Regions from separate parts of the Homo sapiens genome. Here regions 1 and 2 are each linked to region 3. The links are contacts of gene promoters, found by promoter capture Hi-C in human tissues and cell types (Jung and others, 2019). All regions are on one chromosome and are shown on one strand. The core of a region is centred on a gene start or on the middle of the fragment in contact, and the rest is flanking DNA. Distances in the headings are between cores, read along the strand shown.

Region 1 (2,854 bases), core at 321-2,820, 390 kb after region 3:
TCCTTCATTTAAGAATTGAATCCTTCATTTCCACTAATAAATCCTTTATTTAAACTAATTATTTCAAGTATGATGGAATATTGTGGAAGGCACGGTGATTTATTTTGTGAACTTACAATTATACTCTCACTTGTATGTTAATTGCACTTTAAACTGTACTGTTCAGTAAATATTTGTAGATATTCGATTACGAGAAAAAACTCCCAATAATAGACAGAGGGACTTATCCAAAAAGGAATACGTAGAACCCACAAGTCTTCCAGAAGTAATTGCAATGGAGCCAAATACACTATCAAGACTCAAACCCTGAGCACTTACCCGGGAGAGCACGTTGCCAAGGCCTTGAGAGTTTTGAACAAAATGGTTGGAAATCTGGAAAATAAAGCCCATTATGTCACTGTTAGGATTTTACGTGGATTGTCTTTTCAGGGAAAATGTAGTGTTCCCTATAATTTGACGAATTGTGAAGCTGTTACACCATAAAATATTCAGTGTTTAAAGGTGACCTATCATTTTATAGCCCAATCATAGGGAATCCGAGGCTCAGAGAAGTAAAGTGACTTGCCCAAGGTCACACAGGATGTTATATTTCTTTTAACTCTGGGAACAATACAGTCTATTGTTAATAACTGTAGAATGTTTACACATGAATTGTACGTATGTAGTACAACAAAGTTTTAGTTATATATATATATATCTATATGTACATATTCTTTATTTTTATATATTACAACCTATCTATGTGTACATATTCTTTATATATATATTACAATCTATCTATGTGTACATATTCTTTATTTATGTATATTACAATCTAATGTGTACATATTCTTTATTTATATATATTACAATCTATGTGTACATATTCTTCATTTATATATTACACTCTATATGTACATAGTCTTTATATATATATTACACTCTGTGTACATATTCTTCATTTATATATATTACAATCTATGTGTACATATTCTTTATTTATATATATTACAATCTATGTGTACATATTCTTTATATATATTACAATCTATGTATACATATTATTTATATATATTACATCTATGTGTACATATTCTTCATTTATATATATTACAATCTATATGTACATAGTCTTTATTTATATATATATTACAATCTATGTGTACATATTCTTCACTTATATATATTACAATCTATCTATGTATACATATTCTACAGTCATTAACGATAAGCCTTGTGTTACTGTCCTCACTTTTAGGGATTACTGAGATACTGGATGCTTAAGGAATTTACCTTCAGAGATAAATGATTTTGAAGTCTGCAGCTAGAAGTGTCTAATTCTCAGTATCGTAAGATAGCCACTGCTGCCATACTTACCATTCTGAACATAAGCTTTATACCTACTTATATAATTAAAACATATAGAATGAGGAGATTCAAAAAGAGATGCTCAATAAAAGTTTTTGGTTGACTGGCTAGAGACAGTGCTGTCATTATAAAAGGGAGGTGCATGACAGAGGATCAATGAATATCTGTATTATTACTGATCATTGTAGATAAACCAGCTGTAATTACAACCAGGATAACTTTACGTCAGCATAATACAGGGAATAATGATGACAATGATGATAAGCAACAGTTATATCGCACTTATTCTGTGTTGGGGATTGGTCTGAATGCTTGACATGTATTTAAATCTTTTAATGCCCATATAAACTCTATGAGTAAGGAACTATTATTATCTGCCTTTTCCAGATGAAGAAATTCTGGCCCACAGAAGTTATATAAATTGAAATTACCTCTAAGGTCACAGGCAATACATGATGGAAAGGGATCTTGCTATTATTGGAGATTAATCTAGAACAGTGGTGAGTGGTGAGGTATTAGCAGAACTGGAAACTTGACAACTCCCCAACTAATACAGGTTGAACATTCCTAATCTGAATATCCAAAATTCAAAGTGCCCCAAAATCCAACTATTAAATGCTGACATGATACACAACGGAAATGCTTATTGGAGCATTTTAGATTTTGGATTTTCAGATTAGGGCTGCTCAACCGGTAAGTATATATAATGCAAATATCCCAAAATCTGACAAAATCCGAAATCCAGAACACTTCTGGTCCCAAGCATTTTGGATAAGGGATGCTCAACCCGTAACAATGTTCACTCCACAATTCCCTCATTCCTTCACTGTCTTGCTGGGAGTGATAGCCTAAAAAGGTCCCAGAATCGAAATTGTGGCATAAAAGTTCTACAATAGGATACTTATAAAAAGGCTGAATGATGGTGACCATTGACATCCTCAGTTAACTCTCCTCACCTCTTCGGTGGAGAGAGTGACATTGAAAACCCCAGCTGTGAAATGAGCAAAGGACGCAGATTTAAAGAAATACTCGGCGATTCCAATGTAGAGCATGGAGTTGCTGCGTTCTGGGAGCACAAAAGGAACTGGTGAGAAGGGGGGGTCGGTGAGGTTTTCCAGTGGGTAGAATACACCCTGTGGGAAAAGAGAGAGAAAGACCAGTGTATCAGGTGAAAACTCAAATTCTAAGAAGACTAAGAAGATGGACCCTCTGAAGTCAGAATAAGAATTCCAGAAGCTCGGGCCAGGTGTGGTGGCTCACGCCTATAATCCCAACACTTTGGGAGGCTGAGGCGGGTGAATCACTGGAACACTGGAGTTTGAATTGATTGAATGACTGTTTTTCCATGATCAACCTGGGCAACATGGCAGGCCCCGTTTCTATAAAAAATACAAAAATTAGCCAGGTGTGGTGGCGCGTACCTGTAGTTCCGGCTACTTGGGAGGCTGAGTGAGGTGAATCCCTTGAACCAGGGAGGTTGAAGCTGCAGTGAATTGTGACTGTGCCA
Region 2 (3,133 bases), core at 316-2,815, 300 kb after region 3:
ATGGCCAAGCTGCAGTGCAGCTGGGGAGGCTAAATGGCACAATTTGTTACAGCTGCTTAGCTCAGTGAGCCCTCAACAAATGGGAGCTACTGTTACTAACGGTACTAATGCAGTTCATTGATCGGACACTGTCTAGGTGCCTTCTGTGCACAAGGCACTGGGCAGGAAGATTCATTCATGCAACATGGATGTACTGAGCACCTACTATGTGTCAGGCACTGTTCTATATGCTGGGGTCACAGCTGAGCACAAGAAACACCAATCCCAACTCTCTTGGGGTTTCCATCCAGCAGAGGAGACAGGCACAAAGCCACAAAGCAAACGTTATGTCAGGCGGCGACGCACGTGACAAGGCAGCTGAAGGAGGACAAAGGGAGAGTGACGGGAGTAGGTGGCTGCTTCTATTTTGTAAACCTTGGTCAGAGAAGGCCCCTTTGATCGGGTGACCCTGAGCAGGGGCTGTGGAAGGGAGGCATGAGCCCTGCTGGTATCCCGGAGGGGAGAGGTCTGGTTGGAGGAACAGCAGCGGGGCTGGTGCGGCTGCAGCCAAGTGCCAGTGTCGGGAGATGAGGACAGAGGGACAGTGGGGTGGGGTGGGGTCAGATCATGTTGTTGGCCAAGGAAAGCATTTTGATTCCTAAGTGCAAAGGAGACCATCGGCACGTCTTGACTTAATGTTTTTAAAAGATCGCCCTGCCACTGTCGGGGACACAGGCTGGCATCAGGGAGACATGCGGAGGCGGCTGCCTCCATCCTGGCCAAAGACGACGGACAAGGAGGGCTGGTCTCAGTGGAGGGGTGGGTGCGGATGGATTCTGGCTTCATTTTCAAGGTATTGCTGATGGAACACGTGAAACAGGAAAGAAAGAGAGGAGCCAATGAGATGGTAGGAGGCAGCGGGGACGTGGATGTGCCAGTCTCCCACGTCTATGGGGTATCCAAGAGCTGCTCTTGAGGACTCAGGCTCTGCAATGAACAGCTAGTCTGGATTCAAGGGAGAGAGACCAGGGGAGAAAGACTGGGAGGTGGACAGGATTGGAGCTGTGGGTCTGGGTGGGGGTCCCCAGGGAGTGGGTGGAGATGAGAGAGAAGTTAAAGGGAAGAGCCCTGGTCTCTAAGATCAGGGAGATGAGGATGGAGCCGCAAAGAGGAGCAAGAAGGGCGGCCGTGAGGGGCCAGGAGCCTGTGGGGCAGAGGACCCAGGGCTCCCCAGTTCCCCTCAGCCCCTCCCTCCTCCGAGGCTCTGCCTATGCTGCCCTCTCTGCCGGGATGACCTTTCCCCACTTTGGTGAACTCCTAGCTACTCATCCACTGAAACTCTTTGTGTTGGCTCCTCCTCCCCTGGCTGACCAGTGCTTAGTCCAGTGGACCGTGAATCCTGGGACAGCAGAGCACTGTCTTCAACAGAGCCGTGAACAGCGGGGAAGGCTCACGGACGTGACGCCGGAGAGCATCCTTCAAAACCTACCAAATGCTTCTTGCCACAACTGAGTAATTCTGAAGTCCTATCCGTGGCCTAAATGGCCCCTTATGTTCTGCCCCTGCCAACCTCTTCATTTCCTACACTTCTTCTGCTAATGCACTCTGCCTAACGCTGCCTTTCTTGCTGTTCTCCAAATACACCCAGCGTGTTTTCAACTCATGCCCTTTTTACATTTCACTCCCTCCACCTGAGTGAACCATGAAACTATGTGAGTAAAGAGCATATTCAGGTCTCTGCTTAAATTGCCTCTCGTTAGAGAGATCTCCCTGGATCGCTTCATTTTCTCCCCGACATTTAACACTACTTGAAATTTTATTGTTATTACAAAAGCATTTTATTTTCTTTGTCTCCCCAGGCAGACCGTAAGCTCTGTTCACCAATGTATCACCAGTGGCTAGTACAGTCCCTGGTATATGATACAAACTCAAACCCTATGTGCTAAATAAATGGTAGCAGGAATTAGCATAAAATAAAACTGAAAATGGCTAATGCTACACAAATGGCTAATGCTACACATTATAACTAAAACATGAAGTTTGCTTTAGATGTAAGAACTGACTTGAGAACCTCTTCCTTTTGATTTCAAAGAACACAAAAAAATTTGACCCAGGAAAAATTAGACCTGGTAGAAACAACACCAAGTAACATTGTAGAAGCCTAAAACCACACAGAATAAAATCTGTAACTAATAATGATGGAAGAAGCAAATCTTGACAATAATCAAGATTTGTAATAACTAATCTATGTGAATGAGACCTGGTAGATATAACTATAGAGAGAAAAAAACCACTAGCAGGAGCTGAAATCCACAGACTTTAAGATAAACAAAAACAACCCAAAATTTCTTTGTGAAAGTTAATAATCTTAATAAATTAAAAATCAAAATAGAAGTACTTAGAATTTACTTCTACTTCATATAAAATTAATTTAAAAATTAAGCTTATTTAAGCAATACTTAGAAGTAATTTACTTCTACTTCATATGAAATTAATTTAAAATTAAGCTTATTTAATAGTGTCCACTGGAAAATACTTTCCCAATAAAAGTTATTCAATATTATAATAATTCTGATTCAAATCTGGATTCCCAAACATGCCAGCTAACATTCTGGAGAGGAAAACACCCATCAGAACAAAATGGCATATTCAAAATTAGAGTCAAAAAATATTCACTTCAATTAATACAGAGCATGAGAAAACTAGCTTTTTGGCTGCTAGATCACATTGTTGACAACTGCTATTTCCAAGTTTTGTCTTTTTTCCCCCAATCCCTGCCATGTAGCCATGGCTCCTGTACAGTTGAGTATTTAATCAAACACAGAACTGAAAAAATCATCCCTTTCAGATCTTACATGGTTGGTTGTTGAATACTTCTGTAATCCTAAAACTTGTTTGTCTTTCTCAGCGGCCTTCTAATACTCTCTCATGCTTTGCTGCATTCTGAAGGTGACAAAGGTCTTTATGACCATGTCATCTCAAACTGTGAAATAAACTGGTCACAACTGTGACACTTTTGGCAGGTGGTTTCACACCCCCACACCTTCCTTTTTCCTAACCATCTTCCAGTTTAGAATGAATGTGTGCCACGGTGTGTTCTGGCCATAGAGACATAGTCAGAAATCTGCTAGATGGGGCCTTTGGGGAAGACACT
Region 3 (3,106 bases), core at 127-2,626:
ATTCCTGCTTCCTTTGGGCAGGCATTATACTGGCCCCAGGACATAGCCTTATATAGTTTGCAGTCCTGGGGGATGTGTGGGGGAAATGGGGAAGACCTGTGGGGATGCTGTCCAAATAATGATTCTTTGTCTGCAGCTTCAGTGGGAAGAACAGTTGCTGATACGGAAGGAGGGGAGGCAGACCTCTGAAGCATTGAGTGCAAAGGAACAGGATGCTCACATTTAGGCAGTGGGTGGTTGTCTAGCAGTGGGCAGGGAGGGCCTGAGGCAGACCAGAGTCCTGGCAGGGTTTCTGTGGTCCTCTGCCTCCCTGCACCTCCCCATCAGAGCAAGGCCCCCCTCTTTGGGAACAGTCACTTTTGGCTGCTCTGTGGCCTCTAGAGCCAGCCCCTGAGAATACCCCACAGCCCTCCCTCTGAACCCTGGCATGGGCTGCAGGGCCAGCTCTGCTGCTGGTTTCCTGTATGACCTTGGGCAAGTCATGCCTCCTCTCTTGGTCATCTCTGTTCTGAGCCCTGGCTTGCTGTTTAGACATGTGTTTCCAGATGGGTGAGCTGAGTCCCCAGGAAGGTCAGGGTTTGATGAACTCCTTGGAAAGGGTTCTCTAGTATCTTCCCTTCTGCTGCCTCTGGAGGGCCCTGCATCAATACTGGGAGAGGGACAGGGCAAGGAAATAGCTCCCGGTGAGATCCCTTCCCCCAGTCTCAGTTTCTTCCTCTTTACAGTGGGGGTAACAGTGGACCTGGGGGCTGCAGGCTGTGGAGGGGGAGTCAGGAATGTGGGTGGGTGGGTGGCTGTCCTTGTGGCCAAGAGATTAGGATTGTGCTGGTTTTTTTCCAGTGACACCCAGCAACTCTCTGTCCTCTCAAGAATGTTCTCCAGGGAGAACAAGACTTGACTGATTCTTCAGAAGAGTGCTGCACCCATTTTACAAGCGGACAAGCCAAGTCCTTAGAAGGCATGGGACTAGTCCAAGGATGGGTGGCAGGTGATCTGAAGCCTCTAGGCTCCTAGCCCCAGGTGGCCTGTTCCCTCAATGGAGCCACTCCAGCTCTGGCAAGGGCAGGTGTGGTGGCGCTGCTGGTGCCTGCTGTGGGAGTACAGTGGGCCTTTGTGCCAGGCGGGCACCACCCCCTGGCTGGCCCCTCCCCATTCGCAGGACAGCTCTTACCTGCCGGGCCGCCGCCCCAGCCAACAGCTCAGCCGGGTGCTCCTTCCTGGGCTCCACGCCCGGAGCTGCTTCCTGACGGTGCAGCCGCAAGGCATCGCAGGGGCCCCGCGCTACTGCCCTGCTCCCTCAAAGTCCCAGGTCCCCTCCCCTGGTGCTGATCATTAACCAGGAGGCCGTATAAGGAGCTAGCGGCCCTGGCGAGAGGGAAGGACGCAACGCTGCCACCATGGACAGTAGCACCTGGAGCCCCAAGACCACCGCGGTCACCCGGCCTGTTGAGACCCACGAGCTCATTCGCAATGCAGCCGATATCTCCATCATCGTTATCTACTTCGTGGTAGTGATGGCCGTCGGACTGTGGGTATGCAGCGGGTTCTGGGATGCGGGTGGGGAGGGTGCGCACAGAGGAGGAGCAATGGCCTCGCTGAGCTGCAAGGGGCAGTAGGCTTAAGTGTCGGTGGAGGGGAGAGGAAATGACTTGGAAGCACTTTAGAAGCACTCAGAGGCACAGCATGAAGGGAGGAGGGCAAGCAAGGATGAGCAGAAGTGAGAAGGGTGCCCAGGGCAGCCTGCCAGGAAGGACCAAGGAGGATACCTGAGCCTGTGAGCAGAGAAGGAAGGTGGGGGTTTGAAGAGACCGCTGGAAAGTGTAAGGGGCAGGAAAGCGGCTGCTTAGAGCTACAGGGAGGGCTCTGGGGCTTGGGAGATGAGCCTCTAGCAGGTGACTACTGTCCTACCTTTTAGTCATCCAGTTTCAGATGGGAAAGAAATGGTGTGGAGTGGGAAAGCCACAGCCTCTGCCAGCCCCAGAGATGGGGATGCTGAGGTGGCAGACAGAGGGATGCTGACCCATGCCCCACTCCTGGGAGAGGCTAACCCAGAGGCCTTGTGCATGAGGATCCCAGGGGCTGGATCAAGTTAGAGATGAGAAAGATGGGTGGAAAAGGAGGAGGAGGAAGACCTGGGGGTGACCTGGCACTGGGGAGAGGGAAATGTGTGTGTCTCCTTTTGGGACTCTGGGGACACAGCAAACCAGAGAAACTTGTTCTCAGCCACCTGGAACATGGGCATTTCACTTATGACAGACTGTGGCAGGCCCAACAACTAGAGGAGGAGATGTTTTAAAAGTGTGCAGGACCGACTGTGGTGGTTCACTCCTGTAATCCTAGCACTTTGAGAGGCCAAGGTGGGAGGATTGCTTGAGTCCAGGAGTTCGAGATCAGCCTGGGCAACATAGTGAGACTCTGTCTCTACAAAAATAAAAAAAATTACAAAAAATATATAAAATGTTTGCAGATGTTCCAGCCATTCTCGTGATTGTTATGGAGGTGGAGGTGATAAGCCCAGGGAGGCTGCTGTAGCAGCTGGTGATTGTGTTGAACTCTTTTGACTTAGAGGAGAGGAAGGTAGGCATGAACACTTCTGTGGACACAGAGCTTTTTCAGGGACAAAAGGAAGTGTTTTTTTTTTTTTTTCCAAAGGAATTGTAGAAACTAGATGTGGCAGAATGCCTCCCAAGTGTCACATGGGGTCAGTATGGCTGACTTTTCCTCAATACTCTCAGCTTCCCAGACATAGTGGAAACTGACCAACTAGGAGCCAGGATACTCAAGTTCACTACTGGCTTTCACATGGTTCAAATCATGGAACATTGGGTAACTTCCCTCAGCCTCCAGTTTACTCAACTTTAACATAGGTACACTCTTATCTATTCTAATGACTCCCCCATGGTTGTGGTGAGGATACGCAGAGGTGAATCTGAAAGCTGTTTATGGACTCTAGGATTAAAAAAAACTACTATTGTCATTTACCTTCCATGGTATGATCTGGGCTCTGAACAATGTTTATCCTTTTAAGTAAAATGGGCAGCAGTGGTCAGGTGGGTAGTATATTTTTACAAAAGCCACAAGACAGGGAAGGCCAGAATGCTAATCC

The links. The method cuts DNA at HindIII sites, captures the fragments that hold promoters and counts their contacts. A contact is called where the count stands out against the background at its distance.
Region 1: a contact is called between a fragment that was not itself captured here and the fragment with the promoter of SLC5A1 in region 3, in 2 of the 25 tissues and cell types used here (dorsolateral prefrontal cortex and neural progenitor cells).
Region 2: a fragment that was not itself captured here is called in contact with the fragment with the promoter of SLC5A1 in region 3 in 5 of the 25 tissues and cell types used here (H1 embryonic stem cells, IMR-90 fibroblasts, heart right ventricle and 2 more).

What each region holds. Positions count from the first base shown.
Region 1 is chr22:32,433,401-32,436,254 of GRCh38, forward strand. It overlaps BPIFC (BPI fold containing family C), which reads right to left. Exons shown (of 17, transcript NM_174932.3): 10 at 2,304-2,480; 11 at 319-372. Among named protein-coding and RNA genes, the nearest start is that of RTCB, 23 kb to the left of the region's middle. The HindIII fragment of the contact is 8,775 bases long and covers 1-2,854 here.
Region 2 is chr22:32,340,178-32,343,310 of GRCh38, forward strand. LOC107985561 (a long non-coding RNA gene) reads right to left here. Exons shown (of 2, transcript XR_001755500.2): 1 at 2,835-3,133. It also overlaps a transcript of SLC5A4 not described here. Among named protein-coding and RNA genes, the nearest start is that of RFPL3, 16 kb to the right of the region's middle. The HindIII fragment of the contact is 3,874 bases long and covers 1-3,133 here.
Region 3 is chr22:32,041,885-32,044,990 of GRCh38, forward strand. It overlaps SLC5A1 (solute carrier family 5 member 1), which reads left to right and starts at 1,377. Exons shown (of 15, transcript NM_000343.4): 1 at 1,377-1,532. The coding sequence starts at 1,398. The HindIII fragment of the contact is 11,764 bases long and covers 1-3,106 here.